Regions from separate parts of the Homo sapiens genome. Here all the other regions are linked to region 3. The links are contacts of gene promoters, found by promoter capture Hi-C in blood cells and fetal thymus (Javierre and others, 2016). All regions are on one chromosome and are shown on one strand. Each heading gives the region's core, a stretch centred on a gene start or on the middle of the fragment in contact. The rest is flanking DNA. Distances are from core to core; before and after follow the strand shown.

Region 1 (3,168 bases), core at 1-2,500, 240 kb before region 3:
TGATCGTTGTTTCTGTAGTAATAGCAGGAATGATAATGGCGAATGTTTCCAGAGCACTTAGTGTGTTCCAAGCTTTGTGTTGAGCACTGTACACTTTAACCGGTTTAGTCCAAAGAAACCGTTTGAGTTCATTGGGCTGCTATAACAAAGCACTGTAAGCTGGGTGGCCTATAAGCAACAGAAATTTATTTCTCATGATTCTGGAGCTGTGAAGGCCAAGATTGAGGCACTGGCAGATATGGTGTCTGATGACAGTCCATTTCCTTGTGTGTAGATAGCATCTTCTCCCTCCATCTTCATATGGTCTAAGGGCGGAGGGTGCTTGCTCTCTCAGGCTTCTTTTATAAGGGTATTAATTCCTAATTACCTCTTAGGTCACCTCCTGCCCCCATCTCCTAATACTATTATATTGGTGATTAGGTTTCAACATATGAACTCTGGGGGACACAAACATCGGACCCATAACAGGAGGATTTAAAGGATTATTCCACGAGTCTCCGAGGGCTGAGGGAGTGGCTTACTGAAGATAGTAATTAAAGGAAGGTCATTTTAACTGCACATGAAGTGATTTAGAATGAGGGAAACATTGGCCATAGAAGTCTAGCAGGATATAATCCATTCATCATGGCATGTGTTGATAGGAACCTGTACTAGGATATAAGAAAATAGACAAAAAGGATTCAGCATGAGAGGAATCGCAGACAGGGAGTTGACAAGATTTGGTGGGTAAGTAGGCAGAATAGAAACTGAAGAAGTTGACCTTGAGTATTAATAATAATAATACATAAATAATGAACAATACATAATTAATAATACTAGGAAAATTCGAATGAGGGACTTGTTAAAGGAATTGAAGGAGAACATATTGAATTTAACAAGACATATCCTACACTTTCAGAAAAACAGAGTAGATCATAGAGAAAAATAAAAGTCAACATAGTCCTATCACCAGGAGTATGTGGTGAGGTAATTAGTATATATTAATACATATTTACTTATGTTAATATTTTTCTGCCTTCTTTAGCTTTGCTTTACAAGTATAAACATCTGTCTGCCTTTCCTCATCATTGTCTCCTGGTTTACAGGTTTAGCTTGGAGCAGAGAAGACTTGGGAGGAGAGTAAGCAACGAATAACATGCTAGCTATCCTCATATATTATGAGAGAGGGGTTAGATTTACTGAGCACTCAGCTTCGCAAGTTTGTTGATGATTATGTGCTAGGCACTGAGCTAAGACCTAGGGATACAGAGATGACAGCAACTGTGGGCCCTGGCATCCCAGACTTGAGAGCAATTATAATGTCATAACCAGAATTACAAGTGCAATAATGGATGGCTATAGAAGATACACTGCTGGAGTGGACGATTAACTCCAAAGGGAAGGCACATGGAAGGGGCCATAGACAGGTTTGGATTTGAGATTAGTTTTAAAGGCTGATTAAGAGCTTGTCCCAGAAACAAGATGGGCAGGAGTACTCTAGGTAGAAGAAGCATCATTTGCAAAACAATCGATTCGTGAAGCTGCAAGTCTGTCTTGATAATTACTGCAGAAGTTCTAAAACTGGATTATTAGTATTGTAAGCAATTCGGTGTTGCTGGTGTATTGAGAACATAGGACACTAGTGAAAGTCAGATTTGAGCCTGGGAAGGGATACAGAAGCTAGGCTACACAAACCTAAACTCATATATGGGACAATTCTAGGAGGTGACAGGCTTTCATGCAAGGCAGAATGGGCTAACATTTAGAGTTGTCACTGTAACACAGAAAAAAATCATGCTTTAATAGGAAGAGACTCAGACTTGGAGTCAGAAGGCACAAGCTCCCCTTTGTTTTTTGTTCATTTGTTCATGCCTTCATTTAATCAGTATTTATTAAATGCCTGTGATTTGCCTGGTACATTCTAGACTCTGGGAATAGAGTGGTAAATAAGACAGAGTAGAATATAGTTAACAGACTAGTGAATAAAAAAGATAATGCAGGTACTGTAGTGTGGTGTGAGGCAACTGAAACCACACACTGGGATAGAGTTACTTGGGGATGAGGTGGAGGAGGCACTATTTTATTTTATTTTATTTTTTAATCTCAAAATCTCACAAGGAGGCACTATTTTAGATCAGGTGGACAGGAAGGCCTTTCCAAGGGAGCCACATTCAAGCCGTCATAAAATGCCCAGAAGCCGATAAGGTAAATGTCTGAGAACAGAACCTGCCTTGCCAAGGAAGTGCAGAGACTCAGGGGTAGGAATGAGTTTTCTGTGGCACATAATATGGTCAGGGAAGCGTGCAGGGCTACAGAAGGTTGGGCTTGCATGATCTGGCAAGGTATTTGGGCTTTATTCTGAAAGGGTTTTCTATATGGGAGTAATTTAGAGTTTTTTAAGTTCCTTCTAGCTGTTATGCAAAGAATGGGTTTTAGAGGGCAAGCTTGGCATCAGGGAGACTAAGTGAAAAGCTACTGTGGTAAGGCATGGAAGTGGCTTGGGCTAACGCAGTTAGCAGTAGAGACGGTGACAAATGGATGAATATTGGATATATTTTGAAGACAGAGATGACATTCTTGCTAATAGATTGGAATATGGGATAGGAGAAAAAAGGGCTTCAAGAAGGAGCAACTGTAGCTAGACTAATAAAGTAGAAAAGAGATAAGACTCAAATAAACACAATCAGAAATGATAAGGGACAGATTACCACTGACCCCACAGAAATACAAACAACCGTGTCAGAGAATACTATAAACACCTCTATGTACATAAACTAGAAAATCTAGAAGAAATAGATAAGTTCCTGGACACATACACCCTCCCAAGACTGAACCAGGATGAAATTGAATCTATGAATAGACCAATAATGAGTTCTGAAATTGAGGCAGCAATAAATGGTCTACCAACCAAAAAAAGCCCGGGATCAGATGGATTGACAGCTGAATACTACTAGAGATACAAAAAAGAGCTGGTACCATTTCTACTGAAATGACTCCAAAAAATTGAAAAGGAAGGACTCCTCCCTAACTCATTCTATGAGCCCAGCATCATCTTGATACCAAAACTTGGCAGAGATATAACAGAAAAAGAAAACTTCAGGCCAATATCCTTGATGAGCATTGATGCAAAAATTCTCAATAAAATACTGGAATCCAGCAGCACATCAAAAAAGTTATCCACCACAATCA
Region 2 (3,123 bases), core at 161-2,660, 210 kb before region 3:
CACATTCCATTTGACTCTGAAATAGAGCCCCTTGTGGGATACAAATAGGACCTATTCTCCACCCATGGCCATCCTTCCAACAGATTAGCGATGAGAATTGGACGCAGTATGTAGAGCATGCTGTCTGGGATCAGTAGCAGTCTTTCCACTTGAAACTTTGCAGTGTTGAAACTGGTGAGGCCAAGCACTGTGAGTGGCTGTTACCGTCAGCCTCATTCAATACATAATGAAATGTTTTCCTAAAATAAAGTATGATATAAGGTGTGAGGGGAGTGGGAAGAACATAAAAAGGAAAAGATGGTAGGCAGAAAGCAGAATGGAAAAAAGGAGATGATGTATGAAAAGCAGAGAGGTGGGGAAAAAGATATTGCTCATTGGGCTTTGGGGTCAGACAGAAACATGGGTTCAAATCCCAGCTTGGTAAGTTCCAACTGTACATTTCACTTAAATTGGGAATTGTATTCTGGCTGTATTAAAGGTGAATGATAGATATATCATTATTCACCAAATAGGGAAAATCCCTACATATAATGGTGGTTTCTGATTTTACTTTTAGAGAGACTGTCTTTCCTCTGCAGTGTGGAAACTTCACTGTTTCCAGTGGGATTTGATTTGACTGTATTGTAGTGGAAAACCCATATACGTTTTAACATACAAGACTGTATTCTCACCAGGCATGGTGGCTTACGCCTGTAATTCCGACACTTTGAGAGGCCAAAGCAGGTGGATCACCTGAGGTCAGGAGTTCAACACCAGCCTGGCCAACGTGATGAAACCCCGTCTCTATTAAAAATACAAAAAATTAGGTGTGGTAGCGTGGTGGTGCGTGCCTGTAATTCCAGCTACTTGGGAGGTGGAGGCAGGAGAGTCACTTGAACCTGGGAGGCAGAGGTTGCAGGGAGCCAAGATTGTGCCACTGCACTCCAGCCTGGGCAACAGAGCAAGACTCCATCTCAAAAAAAAAAAAAAAAGTGTATTCTCTCACATAAAGAAGTTGAGAGGTAGGCAGTCTAGGGTTGACCAGGGAGTTCATCATGTTGCAAGAGCCCCCATCTCCTTCCAACTTTTTTTTTTTTTTTTTTTTTTTGAGATGGAGTCTTGCTCTGTCACCCAGGCTGGAGTGCAGTGGTGTGATCTCTGCTGACTGCAACCTCTGCCTCCCGGGTTCACGCCATTCTCCTACCTCAGCCTCCCGAGTAGCTGGGACTACAGGTGCCTGCCACCACGCCCAGCTAACTTTTTGTATATTTTTAGTAGAGACGAGGTTTCATCATGTTAGCCAGGACGGTCTCCCTCTCCTGACCTCATGATCCGCCTGCCTTGGCCTCCCAAAGTGCTGGGATTACAGGTGTGAGCCACCACACCTAGCCGCTCCTTCCAACTTTTTGCTCAGCCATCCTTCATTTTGTAAACCAAAAATAAAATTCTAAACCCCTCAACCGTCTGAATGGACCCCTCCTCTCAGCCAAGGACATTCCAAAGTTAACCTAAAAAAGCTAGTTCAGGCCATGATGGAAAGTGGGGGGTTGGATATGCCTTGCAGCTGACCAGCATTAACACCAACACAGAGACCTTAAGACTGATAGAACAGAGCCTTTGAGTCTGATAAGAAATATTTACAGTCTATTCTCTCTGAAGCCTGCTACCTGGAGGCTTCATCTGCATGATAAAACCTTGGTCTCCACAATCGTTATCATAACCCAGACATTCCTTTCTATTGATTCCAGATCTTTAGATAATAACCAATTGCCAAACAGAAAATCTTTGAATCTCCCTATGACCTAGAACCGCCCCCACCCCTGCTTCCAGTTGTCTCGCCTTTCCAGACTGAACTAACATATATCTTGCATGTGTTTTTGGTGTCTTAGCCCTCTCTAAAATGTATAAAACCAAGTCCACCTTGGGTAGACATTCTCAGGATCTCTTGAGGGCTGTGTCACAAGCCATTGGCCACTCATGCTTGGCTCAGAATAAATCTCTTCAAATATTTTACAGAGTTTGACTCTTTTCCTCAACAATCACCATGGTTCAGTATGGCTACTGGAGCTCCACTATTAAATTTGTGTTTCAGAGGGTAGGATGGGTGAAGGACAGAACGAAGGATCATCTGTCCCTTATCAGATTTCCCAGAAGTACTATGTTTTACATCTTACTGGTCAGAACTTAGTCTCGGCCACACATACTTACAAGGAGCCTGTTAACAAACACAGTTTTCACTGGTCCTCCTTTTTTTGAGCCTTGTGTATGGGCTTTAGCAAGAAACACTGTGATCCTTAGGAAACTGTTTCAGAAAAGAAAACTATTATTTGTGAAAATAATAGGACCTCATATTTGACGTGTCACAGGCAGCATGCTCAAAAATTCATATGAACTATCTCAGTTAACCTTCCTTTAATGTAGTTATGATCCCCATTTAACAGGAAAAGAAACTGAGGTTTAAAAATTTTAACTAATTTGCCCAAGGTGACATTGCTAGTGAGTAGCAAACTAGAGCTCAGAACCAGGCTTGTCTTTTTCCAAATTCAAAGCATTTAATCATTATGTTGCCTCCCACTTCTCAATTTTTAAACTGGTACATTTACAATGGGATTTTTAAAATCTTCTGTTTGTGGTTTTAGGGTCTTTAGCTTCCCTCATTTTTTTCCCCCAAATCTTAAGTATTTCGGTAAAAGAACACGCTTTTTTTTTTTTTTTTTTTTTTTTTTGAGACGGGGTCTCACTCTGTCACCTACCCAGGCTGGAGTGCAGTGGTGCAATCTTGGCTCACTGCAATCACCACCTCCCAGGCTCAAATGATCCTCTCACTTCAGCCTCCCAAGTAGCTGGGACTACAGGTGTCTGCCACCACATGCCCGGATAATTTTTGAATATTTTGTAGAGACAGGGTTTTGCCATGTTGCCCAGGCTGGCCTTGAACTTCTGAGCTCAAGCGATCCACCTACCTCAGCCTTCCAAAGTGCTGGGATTACAGGTGTGAGCCATCGCGCCTGGCCCAAGAACATGCTTTTTAGCACTTGGTTAGTTAATTGTTAGTTGTCTCCTTGTATTTTGGTTGGAAATTCAAGTTTTTGCCAATTTGTTTTTATCTGAGCACCCTTTCTCCCAGGCACAGCCCTAAAAGCT
Region 3 (3,031 bases), core at 87-2,586:
ATTTTTTCCTTGTCGTTTTGGTGTCATGTCCAAGAAATCACTGCCAAATCCAATGTCGTGAAGCGATTCTTCTAAGTTTTCTTCTAAGAGTTTTATAGTTTAAGACCTTACAGTTACATCTTTGATCAATTTTGAGATAATTTTGTATATGATGTTTTTAGGTAAAGGTCCAACTGCATTTTTTTCCGCATATGGACATTTAGTTTCCCCAGCATCATTTGTTGAAAATAAATTGTTAAGGTCACTATAGTCTTGTAGTAAGTTCTGAAATCAAGAAGTGTGAGTACTCCAACTTTGTTCTTTAATTTCAAGATTGTTTTGGCTATTTATGACCCCTTGGGGTTCCTTGTTAATTTCAGGATGGAATTCTGCCATTTCTTAGCATAAAACTTTTCAGTGGAGGTCAGTTGCTTTTGACATCCAAACTCCTGCCCTTTTATAGGGTCCTTTAAGATATATCACCTGCTTATCACCTCAGCTTCTTCTCTAGACTGGCTCCAATCCCCTTTATCCAAACCTACTCATCGACCTCTCAGAACCATTTTCACTGCTTCCAATAGCTATGCTCTCTTGTCTCAGGCCTTTGTATGTGACCTGCTTTTTGCCCGGCATTCTTTGCCTGGCATTTCTTCTTCCTTCACATTTCAGCTTCCACATCCCTTCCATGCCCTCCATGAGAAAATTAGTTGGTGCTTTATGTTCTCACTGAGGACTGCCATTCTTAGCACCGTCTCCACTACACGGTAAGTGCTTGGCTTGGACACCCCCCAGCCTGTGGCGAATGGATGTCTTGGTCACATTTGTGCTTAGCACACCACTTTTCATGTAGTAAACCATCTGTGAATGTTGGTTTCAAGAATTGTTGGAAGGTTCCTTTACTGGTATTCTTCCAAAGGATAGTTTTCTGGAGTGTGGGAAGAGTCAACAGCACAGGGGTTGGAAGCACATGAATAATGAAAGGTGTTTACTGGATCCTGCCTCGCATTACTCCACTCGCCCACATTAGCAATGAAATCTGTAATCATTTCATTCCAGTGTTTCTCCGAGACCTCTGAGGGGTTAAGGCAGCAGTCCTGGGCATCCGGCTTATTTAGAAGGAGGGTGCGGAAGTGTGAGGATCTACTTCAGTAATCAGAGGATATTGGAGGAGACCCACCCAGTGTCTTTGGTTATTCAACGCACACCTTAGACCTCACAACACTGGCAGCAGCGCCCCAGAAAGCTCCTCTTGCGGGACCGCGCGCCAGCTTCCGGGTCCAGCCCCAGAAGGAACAGATGACCGGAAATGGAACCTGCGCGGGCCCGTTGCTTAGCAACAAACGCTGCCCGGACGCTAGACGGCTCTGGTGCGGAGGGAGCTGAGACCGCTGCAAGTCCCGGGGCCCTGCCTCTATCGTCCTAGGGGTTCCGCGGGCAGGAGCAACCCAGAAGCACCGGTGAGGCCAGCGCGTCCTCGCAGCCATGAGCAGTGAGCAGGTGAGAGGGCTGCTCTTTGCCAGGCTCGCCGCCGCCGCGACGCTTCCCAGGCGTTTCGGAAGTGGTGGAAGCCCCTCCTGCCTAGCGAACTCCCCAGCTGTGACTCCGCGGTGTACAGCTTCCTTCACCCCACTTGTGGCCTGGGTTACTGAGCGCTTTCCGTGAATGCCCTTATAAGTTCCCTTCCCAGCTGTTTGCCCTTGGTCGTCATAACAACCAAACCTAGCCGCCTAGCGGCGCGCCAGCAGGGGGAGCCACAGCCCAGAGCACCCCCAGAGTGCTAATGGCGGTGTGCTTGGGTGAGAGGCGGCTCTGCGAGGAGTTGCAGCGGGTTTGGGTTCTAAGGTGGGAATCGAAGCCAACTCCTAGCCATGTGACTTTGGACAAATCTCTTAGTCTTTGTAAGCCTTAGTTCTCCCACCTCTTATGCAGAGCGGGGGAAACATCAGAACAACTTTTCTTCTTTTTGAGGTTGTTGTCAATTTCAAATTAGATACCATGCCATACCATAACTATACAATATTATACTATACATGAAAGGCCTTGGTAAGTGACATATGGCACTTCTTAAGATGATATTCCATGGTATGTGATAAAAGATGCACTTTGCAATAGCTGCTTTTCTTTCTCTTTTTTTCTCGTTTTTTTCCTTTCTGTCTTTCTCTCCTTTTTCTTCTAAGAATTCTTTCTTTATTGAACTTAAGAGCAACTAACAGAAAGGCAGAACAATGGTCAGTCGTCTTAATATCAGCACAGAATGGGAAGATATTAAACGTGGTCATTATTCTGGCTAGCTAGAAAATAACTCTAGCTTTCTACGTAGTGATGAATAAGGAAAAGGACTCTATAAACCTCCTGGAAGAAAAACAGTTGTTTTTAAGCCTGCAAATTTCATTTAGCTTTTAAACAATATTAAACGGTAATTATTTCTTTTTTATTGCTTTATAATGCTTTTTTCGGTAGTGTTAGAATTTATTGTGGAAACAGTATTAAAACGGATTTAGTCTCCTATCCATTGAGTTGTACATTACTAACAGAACTATGTGAAGATCCTGATTGGTTAGTTCATCAAATAAGTAATTAATACCTGAAATGCTCAAGAAAATTTGGTTTGAACCTTTTTAAAAAAATAAGTATAATTTAAGAACTAAGAAATGGACACTGATTCATATGCTAAAGTATAATTAGTATTGGTATTAATAATAAAAGAGTAAATGACAAGCAAAAAACAAAAAGTTCAGATACAAGTAACCAAAAACACTGAGCAATTGTTTAATAGATCTTACTAGTTTTTTTCTACATGATATTAATGTAATCAGATTTAAAAAATAACATTTGTTACTGTCACCATTATTATATATTGAGCAGCTTCTTTGCTTGTTGCCCAAGTTAGTCTTCGGCCAGATCTTGAACCATATCCTACGTTGTTAGAGTTTAAAATACACTTTTACCACATTTCCAATGGTATTTCTCAATAGCTGTTTTTCACAATTCCCCTAACTTACCCATCTACAACTAAAAAGTATCCACAAAAAACCCACCAGCCGTTAAGTTC

Evidence for each region. The method cuts DNA at HindIII sites, captures the fragments that hold promoters and counts their contacts. A CHiCAGO score of 5 or more calls a contact.
Region 1: a contact is called between a fragment that was not itself captured here and the fragment with the promoter of DNAH7 in region 3, in 1 of 17 cell types (non-activated CD4 T cells). The highest score is 5.2, in non-activated CD4 T cells.
Region 2: a fragment that was not itself captured here is called in contact with the fragment with the promoter of DNAH7 in region 3 in 1 of 17 cell types (non-activated CD4 T cells); the score reaches 7.2 in non-activated CD4 T cells.

What each region holds. Positions count from the first base shown.
Region 1 is chr2:196,303,269-196,306,436 of GRCh38, reverse strand. The region is part of intron 13 of HECW2 (HECT, C2 and WW domain containing E3 ubiquitin protein ligase 2); the gene reads left to right. Among named protein-coding and RNA genes, the nearest start is that of HECW2-AS1, 45 kb to the right of the region's middle. The HindIII fragment of the contact is 2,351 bases long and covers 75-2,425 here.
Region 2 is chr2:196,281,226-196,284,348 of GRCh38, reverse strand. All of the region lies in intron 14 of HECW2 (HECT, C2 and WW domain containing E3 ubiquitin protein ligase 2), which reads left to right. Among named protein-coding and RNA genes, the nearest start is that of HECW2-AS1, 23 kb to the right of the region's middle. The HindIII fragment of the contact is 4,051 bases long and covers 1-3,123 here.
Region 3 is chr2:196,067,142-196,070,172 of GRCh38, reverse strand. DNAH7 (dynein axonemal heavy chain 7) reads left to right here and starts at 1,336. Exons shown (of 65, transcript NM_018897.3): 1 at 1,336-1,476. The coding sequence starts at 1,462. RefSeq lists enhancers at 1,425-1,514, 1,995-2,044. The HindIII fragment of the contact is 14,129 bases long and covers 1-3,031 here.